Linked DNA regions of Homo sapiens: region 1 is linked to region 2. The links are contacts of gene promoters, found by promoter capture Hi-C in human tissues and cell types (Jung and others, 2019). All regions are on one chromosome and are shown on one strand. Each heading gives the region's core, a stretch centred on a gene start or on the middle of the fragment in contact. The rest is flanking DNA. Distances are from core to core; before and after follow the strand shown. Region 1 overlaps FMO1-AS1 (FMO1 antisense RNA 1). Region 2 holds the start of MROH9 (maestro heat like repeat family member 9).

Region 1 (6,709 bases), core at 1,663-4,162, 240 kb before region 2:
TTAATAAATTTGTGTACATTTTCTTCTATCAATATGCCTTTTGTCAGTAGATTTTTAGCAAATCTTCAGAGAGCAGAGGGGAATTTTCCATCAACGCTCCAAAAACTAACAAAATGTCCATCAATAGAATATTGGTTCCATATCTTATGGTACATCTCTATGATTGAATAACATGTAGCTTTGAAAAGAATGACACAGCTCTCTATATATTAGTTGTCAAGGTATATTATTAAATAAGTAAGATACAGAACAGCATATACACAATGCTATGCTTTGTGTAAAAAGGAAAATACAATTTATTTTTCTCATATCTGCATAAATCTGAAAAATATTCAAGAAATTAGTAAGAGTGGACACTTGAGAGGATCAGGGGGTGGGAACTGAAAAGAAGAAGGCAGTGTTTAGGCAGATAGAGGCTGGGAGTGAACGTAAGATTTTTTTCACTTAAATTTTTTTTTGAATCATGAGAACATATAACTTAAAACAATAGCACAAACACAACACTTATTGTTAGCCCATGATCAATAAAGCATCGACATTTGGGTTGATTCTCTGATTTCAGGCTTGCCTAAGTAAAATGTCTGAGCACTTGTCTTACATGGTCATTAATGAAATGATAGAGGAAGGAACAAAGGGAAGATATGCCCAAAAGGCAAATCACAGTTCCCCACTCAGGAAGACACACACTAATTGTGCTTGTCAAAATAAAAGTTTTTCAATTTCAGAACATTCTAAGTTCTAGTCTTCACAAAACACTTGTTACAAATAAATGCTCATGATTAATCATCTAACTTAGAATGCCCTGCCTCCATCTCCATCTATCAAATTTCACCCATTTTTTCTGATTACCCCAGCCAGGAGTTAAAGCTCACTGTTGCTACTATTGAAATGTAACCTACAGAAATTCCTCTTATGTGCTGTACCTCTTGGACTTCTTTACGACACTTATCAACTCCAGTTTCTTCTATCAATTTAGTTTGTCTCAAATTTGTCCTCTTATCTCTATTTTTCCTGCTACTATCATGGTTCAGATACTCACCACTTCTTACTAGAAGTCTTGATTGTCTCCTCCCTCTCAGTCTTGACCCACCACCACCTTCCCACTCCAACCACTTCTAGCTCTCCCCCTACCAATTCATTCTTTACACTACAGCTGAAATTGAGAGAACTTCAGATTAAATATGGTGGACTGAAGACACATTTTCCTCTGCTTCCACTTGAAATCCCACGAAAGAGTATTTTAAAAGGCATAAACTTAGAGGATAAATGAAGTAAGAGATTGAGATTACAGTGAGAAGAAATGTCAACACACTATTTGAAGATGAGAAGTGAGTTGATGAATTATCAGAAAAGAGAATGCTAACACCAAGGGCTTGCGAATGGGATGCTAACATGAAAAAAGTGAATGCATGCCAGATGATTTTAAGATAGCTTAGTGAGTGATTGGAGGCATCAGGAACTGCAAAGATGTTGGTAATGGGACATGACAGAGGAATTCGTTGAAAGTCTTTTTATGAAATGGATATTTCTCATCCTCATTCTGCAAACAACTATGAGACTGACCTTCCTTCATCCTGGATGGAGACTGGAGGTTTGATCTTTGTGGAAATTGAACTGGTAAAGTTCCAGACCTGATAATATAAAAAGGACTCAAAACCAGGGCAATTCACCAAGAAATTTCAGAACCCCAGAGATAGAGATTCCACAACCTTTCAGAAAAGGAAATACAAGTCGCATATAAAGGACAGGAAGTAGAATGAACAATGGGCTTTTAACAATATTGAAGCTCGAAGGCAATGGGGCAATGACTTTAAAAGTCTAAGGTAGTATCATTTTCAGCTTATACTTTTACATTTAGCTGAATTACTAATAAAGTGTGAGCATGGAAGTAATATATTTCAGTTACAGAAGAGGTATGACACATACTGTTTATTGGTTACCCAAAAGTTTCCAAGTTCATTTTTCTCTTTTTACCTTCCACTATAGGCTGGGAAAAATTATTTATCGTTATTTCAGATGCCCTTGTACTTAGAAGTCACCATGCAATCTCCACTCTGACCAGTGAGGTATAAACAGAATTCTCCCAGTGGATCTCTAGAAAACCTTTTGATTCCTTCCTCCCTATCTCCCCTCCCCTCTCCTCCCCATCTCCCCTCCCCTCTCCTCCCCCTCCCTCCCTCCCTCCATCCTTCCCTCCCTCCCTCCCTCCCTCCCTCCCTCCTTCCCTCCTTCCTTCCTTCCTTCCTTCCTTCCTTCCTTCCTTCCTTCCTTCCTTCCTTCCTTCCTTCCTTCTTTTCTTGTTTTCATCTCTCTCTCCTATCTCTCTGGACATAGCTTATCTTTATCTTATTTGTTTTTATGAAATTAGGATATTTTACCAGATTCCTTATTTAGTGGTGCCCTCTTCTGAAAAAGTAGAAAAGTTCAGATATTTAACAGTTTTCCTTTTGTTTGTTTGTTTTAATGATGATGATTGGGGAAGGGTTTTGAATCCTCCAATTTTATGGTTCTTTTTTTGTCTTATAGGACCCTAATTTTTTTCTTCCTTTTTTTCTTCTTTCTCCCTTCACTGCCAAATTGCCACAGGGCTTGTCTTCCTTCTTTTTGCCTTTTCTTTTCTCACTCAGAGCTATGCATTTCAAAGACCAACTTTTAAAATGTAGTCTCTCCTTTTAAATCTCACCTGTCTCTTTATATTGCATCAATCCTTTTCAATGGTGCCTGGTCCTTTAAATAGCTAGTATTTGAAATTACTTTCTAGTAGCCAGTACTCTGACTTGCTTACATGCTTTTTTACTGTTTCTAATGTAAACTAGTTTTATTTTATGATACTTTTTGAATTTACTGTAAAGAGACTCCAGTATGGCCAACATGGCGAAACCCCGTTTCTACTAAAAATACAAGAATTATTCAGGTGTGGTGGCTCATGCCTATAATCCCAGCATTTTGGGAGGCTGAGGCAGGAGGATCACTTGAGGCCAGGAGTTCAAGACCAGCCTGGCCCACATGGTGAAACACTGTCTCTACTAAAAATATAAAATTTTGCCCGGTGTGGTGATGTGCGCCTGTAGTCCTAGCTACTTGGGAGGCTGAGGCAGGAGAATCGCTTGAACCTGGGAGGTGGAGGTTGCAGTGAGCTGAGATTGCACCACTACACTCCAGCCTGGGCAACCGAGCAAGAGTCTATCTCAAACAAACAAACAAAATGTAAAGAGACTGACTAGTATTTACCTTTTAGGATGTCAGTGAAAATTAGTGAAAGCTTTGAATAATGATTTATTTAAAAATAAATGCAGTATGATTACTTTCAGGTGTGGTGAGGACCTTCGGGAGCACTTTCTTTGCAAAGAAGTAATTATTTATAATTGTTATATTTCTTAATTGTACGGATTTTATGTTAAAATAGTACCAGATTGCATTTTGTTTTCTTCAGTAGTCTAAGTTCCCCCATCAAAATATTGTTCACTTAATTTATTTACTCTGCAAACTTAAAAACAGAAGTTATAGTTAGCAGAAGTAAATTTTAGCTCAAACTATACCCATGACATTATGAATTTTACATAGAAATTTACTGAGACTTATAAGGAGTTAGTGTGTTTATACAGCTTCCTAGAGAGGGAGATGCTAAATTTCTCTTTATCACTCATTCTTTTAGCTGTCCTCACTACCAGGAAGTTCTTTACTGTGTTTAATCAAATCCTTTAAATCACATGAACAACTATTAAAACAAATTAAAAGTGGGCCCAAGGAGGCCTATGTGTGAGTTCCTAAATGCAGCCCAACTCAGCACTTAAACAAACTGAAAACCTAACTTAGGAACAGAATCTCAGCCAATCACAGATGGCCAATTCTTCAAACCATGTTCAAATAAGACAGATGTGAACTATAACCAATTGGGCTATCTCTGTACCTCAGTGCAGTTTTCTGTATGTCACTTCCTTTTCTCTAGTTACAAATATAACCTACACATTTGGTGGGGTGGAACATTCTGAGCCATTTTTGGACTGAACTGCTGCTCAATTCTAAAGTCACAAATAAAGGCCAATTAACGCCTGCAAAACTAGATTTGTTGTAATTTTGTCTTTTAACACAACACATTTCCAATATGACTAATGTTTAGGAAAACAAACAACTTGAATTTTTGCTGGCTTCTCTGCAGATACATTCATAACTTTAATCCTACTATATTTTGTGTGATTTAAAATTATGTTGTTTAATTTTATAAGTCAAAGATAATTTCCGGTCTATTTTAAAATATTTATATACTAGGATTGTAGCTCATATTCTATGAGAATATGTTATGGATAGAAGACTTTTTTTCCATAGTAACTGGAGGCAGGGTGGTAGGTGGAGGTGGTAAAGCCAGTAAATTGGTGTGATATCTGAATGGGGTGCTATTTTTAAAGAAATGATGAGTGTATGGATTTATTTAGTAAATATTTATTGAGTACATATTGTGTGCCAGGTATTGCACATACTTGAACTACTGAACAAGTTCTTGCCCAGTGAAAGTCTTTCAAGAACATACTTTCAAAAGTACGTAATAGTTTATAACTAGTACATTAATTGTGGGAATGTGATTGCTTCCACGGTATTTAAAATATTTTGTGTTGTATAATAGTTTAAGCTTTCTCTTACAATTTTGTTTATAGTGCTAAGTGTTCATGAAATATCCCTTTTATAGATAAAATAAAGGGACACTTCAGCCATGTTCTTGTCAAAATTGTCATAAGTTCTGAATTATTGAAATCAGGCCTAGATTGTTGCAGTGGCTTTTCAACTGGTGTTCTTGTTTGTAGTCTTTCCCATTTATAATAAATTCTCTGCCTTGAAGGTAAAAGTATTTTCCTATACTGTTAAATCAATTTTTGCTACTTCCCTGCTTAAACACCCCATTGGTTTCCTATTTAAACATTGTTTTGAGTCATTTAATGAGCTGTAGGTGAAGAAACACGATTTTCTCTCTACCCTGCATGAGTTCTTAGTTGGGACAGACCTTTGTAATAAAAGATTAATAAGAGAAAAACAGAAGTTTAATTACATGTATATCTTATCTATACATTTTCAGGGAAAAATGAGTTCTCTGGAGTAGATCTGAAACAGGTGGCTTTGACTTCGAGCTTAAATACCATGGTTCCCTGATACAAAGAAGTATGTGAGAGAGACTCAGTTATGACAAGAAAAAAATTATGCCAAGAAAGGCCTGTTAAACAAGAACAAGGTTTATTATGCAGATTTTTGCTGATGACTTTTCCACTGATAAGAATTTCTAATGATTAAGTAATCCTTCTCTTCCTGGTACAGAGAGGGAGATACCCTTACAAATGAAGATTTCCTTTATAGATATAAATTTTCCTTACAAAAGAATAACTTCTGTTTTCAAAGCTTCTCTTGTGTCTGCTGTTTCTCAAAATAATCAACTTTAAATAATTTTTGTGCCAAAGAGGCATTCTTAAGGTGGCATAGTCTGGTCTCCTACAGTTATACTGGGGTGGTACATCCTGAATTTCCTCAATATTTTATAAATATTTTGAAGCAATCACATTTTTGTTGTGTGTAACACATTTATAAAACAAAACCATTATAATATGTATGAGCGAAACGGAGTCTGATCAACAACAAGCTTTGTCACAACCAGATATTTAAGAGGAATGCAAATACCTGTTATTCTGCATATGTTAAAAGTTTTGAGATAGGGGTATAGAATTATAATCTATCCAGAGAAGAGATGTGGGAAAAATCTCCAAATTTTAGAATAAAATCCAGTTTTCTAAATATAGTTTTCTTGGCTCTAACTGTAGAGAAAGCAAAATAACTGACTTTTTCTTCTTTTCTACAACCTCTTTCTGATTGCAGATGCTTCTTTATGGCTTCTTTTACCTTTCAAGCCTGTACTGGATGTACCTGTCACAGGACAAACAATTATGACACATGAGGAAAAGTAGTTGTGTGGACTATTCCCAGATATTTTCAAAGGATAATCCTTTGTTAACTGAGATAACAGATGTTAGGGTACTGAGTTGGAAAAGCCAGAGATAACTGAATTGTTCTAATGAGAAAACAGTGGAAGCTTGGTGGTGATGGGATTGAGGATACATTGTTTCAAAATATGACAGCTTGGCATTTGAGAAAACAGCACAAGCAGAAAGTACTCCTTGACTTTCTTGCTGTCTTTCTTCCCTGAAATAGGCCATAAAATAATTCTTTGACTTTGCTCTGAATAGGCAGTTAGTTTGGAATCAAGGATGGAGAAGCTCTGGGGAGGAAGGGTTGATAAAAGGGTGGGGGTGACAAGTCATCTGAGAAGAACCTTGAGAGGAAACAGAGATCTAATGAGGATTTTTTATTAATGTTTTTGTTGTCAGGTGTATTCTTTTGTCTTCCTATAGAAAAATTGGAATGATTTGCTAAAATTTCATAGAATTGGATGTACTTTTAGGGAATAGCCGAGTCTTACTTTAAAGTGGGAACAAGAACAGGTTGTCAACAGGAGTAACTTATTTACTTTAAGCCCAATGTATTTCATGTTCAAATCTGAGTGTGTGTGTACGTTCATGTGCATGTCCACGAGTGCGTGTGCGTACATGCTCACATAGGGATGAATTCAGGAAGACTATAGATATCTTGTGGTTTGACCTTGCCTCTTCTATTCCCATAGATGTGTCTATTTTCAGATCTTGGTGACCTAATAACTACAAATAGCTAAGGA
Region 2 (6,243 bases), core at 3,021-5,520:
TAGGCCTTAGTAGAGACTGAATGCTTGACCACGTGGCACCAAGTTACCATGTGATCTGAGCTGCTTATCATGAACTGGGTGTTATCCAACCCACCAAGCCATAAAGTTGGGTGTGCACGGCAGTACTCCATCATCAAATGGAAGTGATATATATGTGTGATCAGGCCTGAGCAGGTCTTGAAGGCACAAGTAAATTACATAAAGAAATGGCCAAAAGCCAGTGATCCTTCCTCCTACTACACTGCCTTCTCTTTATTAGCCTGCAACTATGGCTTCATGGGGAGTTCCCTATGATCAATTGACAGAGGAAGAAAACAGCCTGGTTTACAGTTGGTTCTACATGATATACAGGCACAACTTGAAAGTGGATGACTGTATCCCTATAGCCCCCTTTTGGGACATCTCTGAAGGACAATGGCCAAGAGAAATACTCCCAGTGGGCAAAACCCCAAGCAGTGCAATCCTCCCTGTAGGCAGAACTTCGAGCACTGAATCTGATTTTTTACTTTGATTGGAAGGAGAAATAGCCAGATGTGTGATTATATACTGATTCATGGGCTGTGCCCAGTGATTTTTCTAGATGGTCAGAAACTTGGAAGGAACATGATTGGAAAATTGATGAAGAAATTTGAGGAAGAGATAAGTGGATAGACATCTCAGAATTAGCAAAAAGTTTGAAGATATTTGTGTTCCCTGTAAATATTCACCAAAGGGCAATCTCTGCTGAGGATTATTTAATAATCAAGCAGATAGGATGACCCATTCTGTAGGTACCAATTAGGCTATTTCTTCAGCCACTAGTGTCATCACCCAATAGGCTCATGAGCAAAGTAGCCATAGTGTCAGGGATGTAAATTATGTATGGGTCCAGCAACATGGACTTTTATTTGTCAAGGACAACCTAGCTGTGGCCACTACCGAGTGGCCAATATGCCAGTAGCAGAGAAAAACACTGAGTCCTTGATGTGGCCCAGAGTGATCAGCCAGCTACCTGGTGGCAGCTTGACTACATTGGACTGCGTCCATCATAGAAGAGGAAGCATTTTGTCCTTACTGAAATAGACACTTACCCTGGATATGGATTTGCCGTCCAGGTATGCAATGCTTCTGCCAAAACTGCCATTTGTGGACTTATAGAATGCCTTATCCACCATCATGTTATTCCACACAGCATTGCTTCTGATCAAGGAACTCACTTCACAGCCAAAGAAGTGGGGCAATTGGCTTATGCTCATGGAATTCACTAGTCTTACCATGTTCCCCACCATCCTAAAGCCACTTGTTTGATGGAACGGTGGAATGACCTTTTGAAGACTCAGTTACGTCATCAGCTAGATGTCAATACCTGGAAGGGCTGGGGCAAGGTTCTCCGGAAAACTGAATATGCTCTGAATATGTTCAATTTATAGTGCTATTTCTCCTATAACCAGGATTCCTGGGTCTAGGGATCAAGGGGTGAAAATAGAGTTGCACCACTCACTATTATCCTTAGTGTCCCACTAGCTTCCTGTTCTTGTGGCATTATGCTCTGCTGGCTTAGAGATCTCAGTTCTGGAGGGAAGAATTCTTCCATCAGGGGACACGACAATAATTCCACTGAACTGGAAGTTAAGACTGCCACCTGGCCACCTTGGTCTCCTTGTGCTTCTGAGTCAACAGGCTAAGAAGGGAGTTATGGTGCTGGTTGGACTGACTGATCCACACTACCAAAGAGAACTTGGGCTACTATTCCATAATGGAGGCAAGGAAGAGTATGTCTGCAATACAAAAGATCCCTTAGTGTGTCTCTTAGTATTACTGTGTCCTGTGATTAAGATCAATGGAAAACTACAACCACCCAGTGCAGGTAGGACTACTAGTGACCCAGACCTTTATGGATCACTTTAGCAGGTAAAGAACCACAAGCAGCTGAGGTGCTTACTGAAGGCAAAGAAACTACAGAATGTGTAGTAGAAAAAGGGAGTTAAAAATACTGATTATGGGCCGGGCGCGGTGGCTCACGCCTGTAATCCCAGCACTTTGGGAGGCCGAGGCGGGCGGATCACGAGGTCAGGAGATCGAGACCATCCCGGCTAAAACGGTGAAACCCCGTCTCTACTAAAAATACAAAAAAAATTAGCCGGGCGTAGTGGCGGGCGCCTGTAGTCCCAGCTACTTGGGAGGCTGAGGCAGGAGAATGGCGTGAACCCGGGAGGCGGAGCTTGCAGTGAGCCGAGATCCCGCCACTGCACTCCAGCCTGGGCGACAGAGCGAGACTCCGTCTCAAAAAAAAAAAAAAAAAAAAAAAATACTGATTATGATGCTGTGATCAGTGCAGAAATGAAGACTGTAATAATTATGAGTATTTCCTTTTAATTTTGTTCTGAATACATTTCTTTGTGTATATATTAGATACCAAATATTTTTTCTTTTCTTATTCTCTTATCACATAATACAAAATGCAATGACTTCATATTCTAGTATTTAAGTATTGTTAATGTTACATCATAGTGTTTAAGTTACAGGACATCAAGGAAGAGAGTAAACATCACTGAAGGACTTTATCTCCTCCTCTGAGAAGGGTTTAGTGCATTTTCAGTTGTATGCAGGACATATGTTGGAACAGGAATTAAAAGAAATTAAAGAATGTGTAAGCAGAAACTCAGTTGTATGTAAGAAAACCCAATTCCCCAGAGAAAGAGAAAGAGCTGGAGTCCTTTAAAATTAACTGCCTGTTTTTCTGTGGCTAGTGAGCCTTATCTCTCCTCCTTTCCCAGGCATTGTGAAGACCCTGTTTCTCTAGCTGTGCAGCTGCAAGGTCACTAGACAGATAAACTCAAGTCATAAAACATGTTTTTCCTTGAAAAGTAAGAAATGATGTAATGCATGTTTCAATTAATTGAATAACTGTCTTTGTTTCTCACTTCTGTAATATGCTTCCCCCTACACAGATCTCCCCCACCCCACGAAATGATTAAAAGATAACTCTTTGTTCAGGGCTCAGTCCTTTGGAGGTTAATCCAACTGGGCCGGTGCACCTAAATAATAAATATCCTTCTCAACCCCATCGGTCTCTCTGATTCCTTATCAATCCCACTACATTTCAACATGTTAAATGGAATTATGAGCTTCTTATTGACTTTATTTGGAGATTAACTATGGCTTAAGGATATGTATATGGGTGCCAAATTTTCAACGTGGGAACTCATTATGGTTAGTTAATATTACGTGTCAAACTGAGTGAGCCATAGGATGCCCAGATATCTGGTAAACATTATTTTGGGGTATGTCTGTGAGGGTATTTCCAGAAGAGATTAGCATTTAAATTGGTGTTCTGATGATAGGAGATGACACTCCCTAATGTGGGTCAACATCTTCCAATCCATTGAGGGCCTGAATAAAACAAGAAGGCAGAAGAATGCTTAGTTTTCTCTTTGCCTGACTACTTGACTTGGGACACAAATCTGCTGCCCTCGGTGCTCTGGTTCTCAGATCCTCAGAACCAGGCTGGAATTTTTATCATCAACTCTCTTGCTCTCAGGCCTTCAAACTGCACCATTGGATCTCCTGGGTCTCTGTCTTGCAGAAAGCAGAATCCAGGACTTCCTAGCTTCTATTATTGTGTAAACCAATACCTTATAATAAATATATTTATCTATATAGTTGTGGTTTCTCTCATCCTTACTAATAAGATAATCCTTACTAGTAAGGCATGAAGTTAGGAGATTAATGAATAAAGACAAATTCTTCCAATTGCCAACTTTGGCAAGATTTCTGGATGAGGGCCCATAGTAATGTAATTTTCTTTTTCTTTTCTTTTTTTTTTTTTTTTTTTTTTTTTTGTCTCACTCTGTTGCCAGGCTGGAGTGCAGTAGCATGATCTCGGCTCACTGCAACCTCCACCTCCCGAGTTCAAGTGATTCTCCTGCCTCAGCCTCCTGAGTAGCTGGGATTACAGGCACCCGCCACCACACCCAGCTAATTTTTGTATTTTTAGTAGAGATGGGGTTTCACCAAGTTGCCTAGGGTGGTCTCGACCTCCTGACCTCATGATCCGCCCACAGCCTCCCAAAGTGCTGGGATTACAGGTGTGAGCCACCATACCTGGGCCATAACGTAATTTTCTAATGTATTCATGGTTCTTTTTCTTAACAGAACAAAAATTAAGAAAAGTAGTCAGGATTAGAAAAAAAGACAAGCTTTTGAATGACAGAAATATTAATAGGAATTCACTTACATATTTGTAACTTCTCTGTAATCACGGTGAGACAAAGTAGTGAAGAGAAACTCTAGTATATTACCTCTTAGCCAAAGGTAAAATACTCTAGGTAGTTATCAACCAAGCAAATTCTTTGAAATGTTGACACTCGTCATGGCAACCATATGTTTCAAAGATTCCATTCTGGAATGAATGTGGTAGAATGTCCTGGCATGCCCAAGTGGCTACTAATGCTCACCTGTCATTATTGAGGGGTGGGTAAGTTTCTGGTTTCTATGTTACAAGCACTGAAAGATAGTTCTTCAGACCAACAGTCCAGTAGAAGCTGGGCAAAGGATAAGAATAGAAAATTCACAGAAAAGGAAAACTGAATGGCCAATAAATATTTTAAAAGATTTTTAATCTCACTTGAAGTTATGAAAATACAAACCATTAAAATATTATTTCCCAGCTAATAAGTTAAAAAGTACTAAAATACAAGTAAAAATTAAAAAAAGATAATTTCAAATATTGGCAAAGATAAAAGAAAGTTGAACTTTCTCACACGACTGGTGGGATTATAAATGGATATAACTAGTTTGTAGAGAAACTTGTCAAGTTCTAGCAAAACTGAAAATCTACAACCCAGAATTTCCAGTTCTAGGTCCATAGAGTGTATAAACATGTATACAACTGATGCACTGAGAGACATGAAGGATGTTTATTGTAGCACTTTTTATAATAGAGTTATTAAAATATAATTCACATACCATAAAATTTATCTTAAAGTATATAATTCAATCATTTTAAATATATTTACAGAGGTATACAACCATCATTACTATCTAATTTTAGAACATTTTCATTTAGAACAAGCTCCAAAGAAACCCTGTACCTGTTAGCAGACATTCACCCTCCCTCTCCCCCAAGTACCTGGCAACCACTAATCTTCTGTCTGCCTTCTGGACATTTTATGTAAATAGATTTATACAATATGTGACTTTTTATGATTAGACTGTTTGGATTTTTATTACTGAGTTGTGATTTTTTAATATGTTCTAGATGCTAGTCTCTTATCAGATACATAATTTGCAAATATTCCTCCTTTTCTATGGGCTGCCTTTACATTTTCTTGACAGTGTCTCTTGAAGCACAAAAGTTTTAAATTTAAGTGAAATTTAAATTTGCCATTCTTTTTCTTTTATTGCTTGTGTTTTTGGTATCATAACTAAAAAAAAAGAAAAAGACATTGCCTGCATTCCCTGGCCCAACTTCACAGAGATTAGATTTAGAACTTTTCTAAGAGTTTTGTAGTTTTTGCCTTACATTTAGGTCTTTGGTTCATTCTGAATTAGTTTTAGTATATAGTGTGAGGTAGAGGTCTAATTTTATCTTATTTTTTGCATCTGGATATTCACTTGTCTCAGTACAATTTGTTAAAAAGATGATTCTTTTCCTGATTGTCTCCACATCTTTGTAAAAAATGAATTGACTAAAATGGTTTATTTCTGAACTCAATTTTATCCCATTAATCTATATGTTTTTCCTATACTGGTAGCACACTGTGGTGATTTCTGTGTCTTTGTAGTAAGTTTTGAAATCAAGAAGTGTGAATTTTCAAACTTTGTTTGTTCTAGGGTCACAATTATAACATTAGCCTAAAACAATGTAGTTTGAATTAATATCAATTTAGTTTCAATAACATACAAAGGTTTTGCTCCAGTATACCTGGTTTCCTCCTTCATTTTTTCTGCTATTATTGCCATGCACATTATATATATTCATGTTATACATACATATATTTAAACATTATAATCCCACCAACCCAGTTTTATAATTATTGCTTTAAGCTGTTTTCTTTTAAACATAATAGGAGAACAAAACCAAATAATTTTATTCTACCTCTGTAGTTTATGAGTGTGCTCTCTGTGTAGACTTGAGTGACTAGCTAGTATTCTTTTATTTCAGCGTGAGACAATATCTTCAGTATTTCTGGTAGGGCAGATCTGCTAGAAAAACAATCTTACTTTATTTGTGAATACTTAATTTTTCCTTTCTTTCTTTCC

Evidence for each region. Contacts are between HindIII fragments. The study calls those that stand out against the background at their distance.
Region 1: a fragment that was not itself captured here is called in contact with the fragment with the promoter of MROH9 in region 2 in 2 of the 25 tissues and cell types used here (H1 embryonic stem cells and hippocampus).

What each region holds. Positions count from the first base shown.
Region 1 is chr1:171,170,459-171,177,167 of GRCh38, reverse strand. The region is part of intron 2 of FMO1-AS1 (FMO1 antisense RNA 1); the gene reads left to right. Among named protein-coding and RNA genes, the nearest start is that of FMO2, 11 kb to the left of the region's middle. The HindIII fragment of the contact is 6,992 bases long and covers 1-6,408 here.
Region 2 is chr1:170,933,561-170,939,803 of GRCh38, reverse strand. It overlaps MROH9 (maestro heat like repeat family member 9), which reads right to left and starts at 4,270. Exons shown (of 22, transcript NM_001163629.2): 1 at 4,217-4,270. The HindIII fragment of the contact is 10,538 bases long and covers 1,656-6,243 here.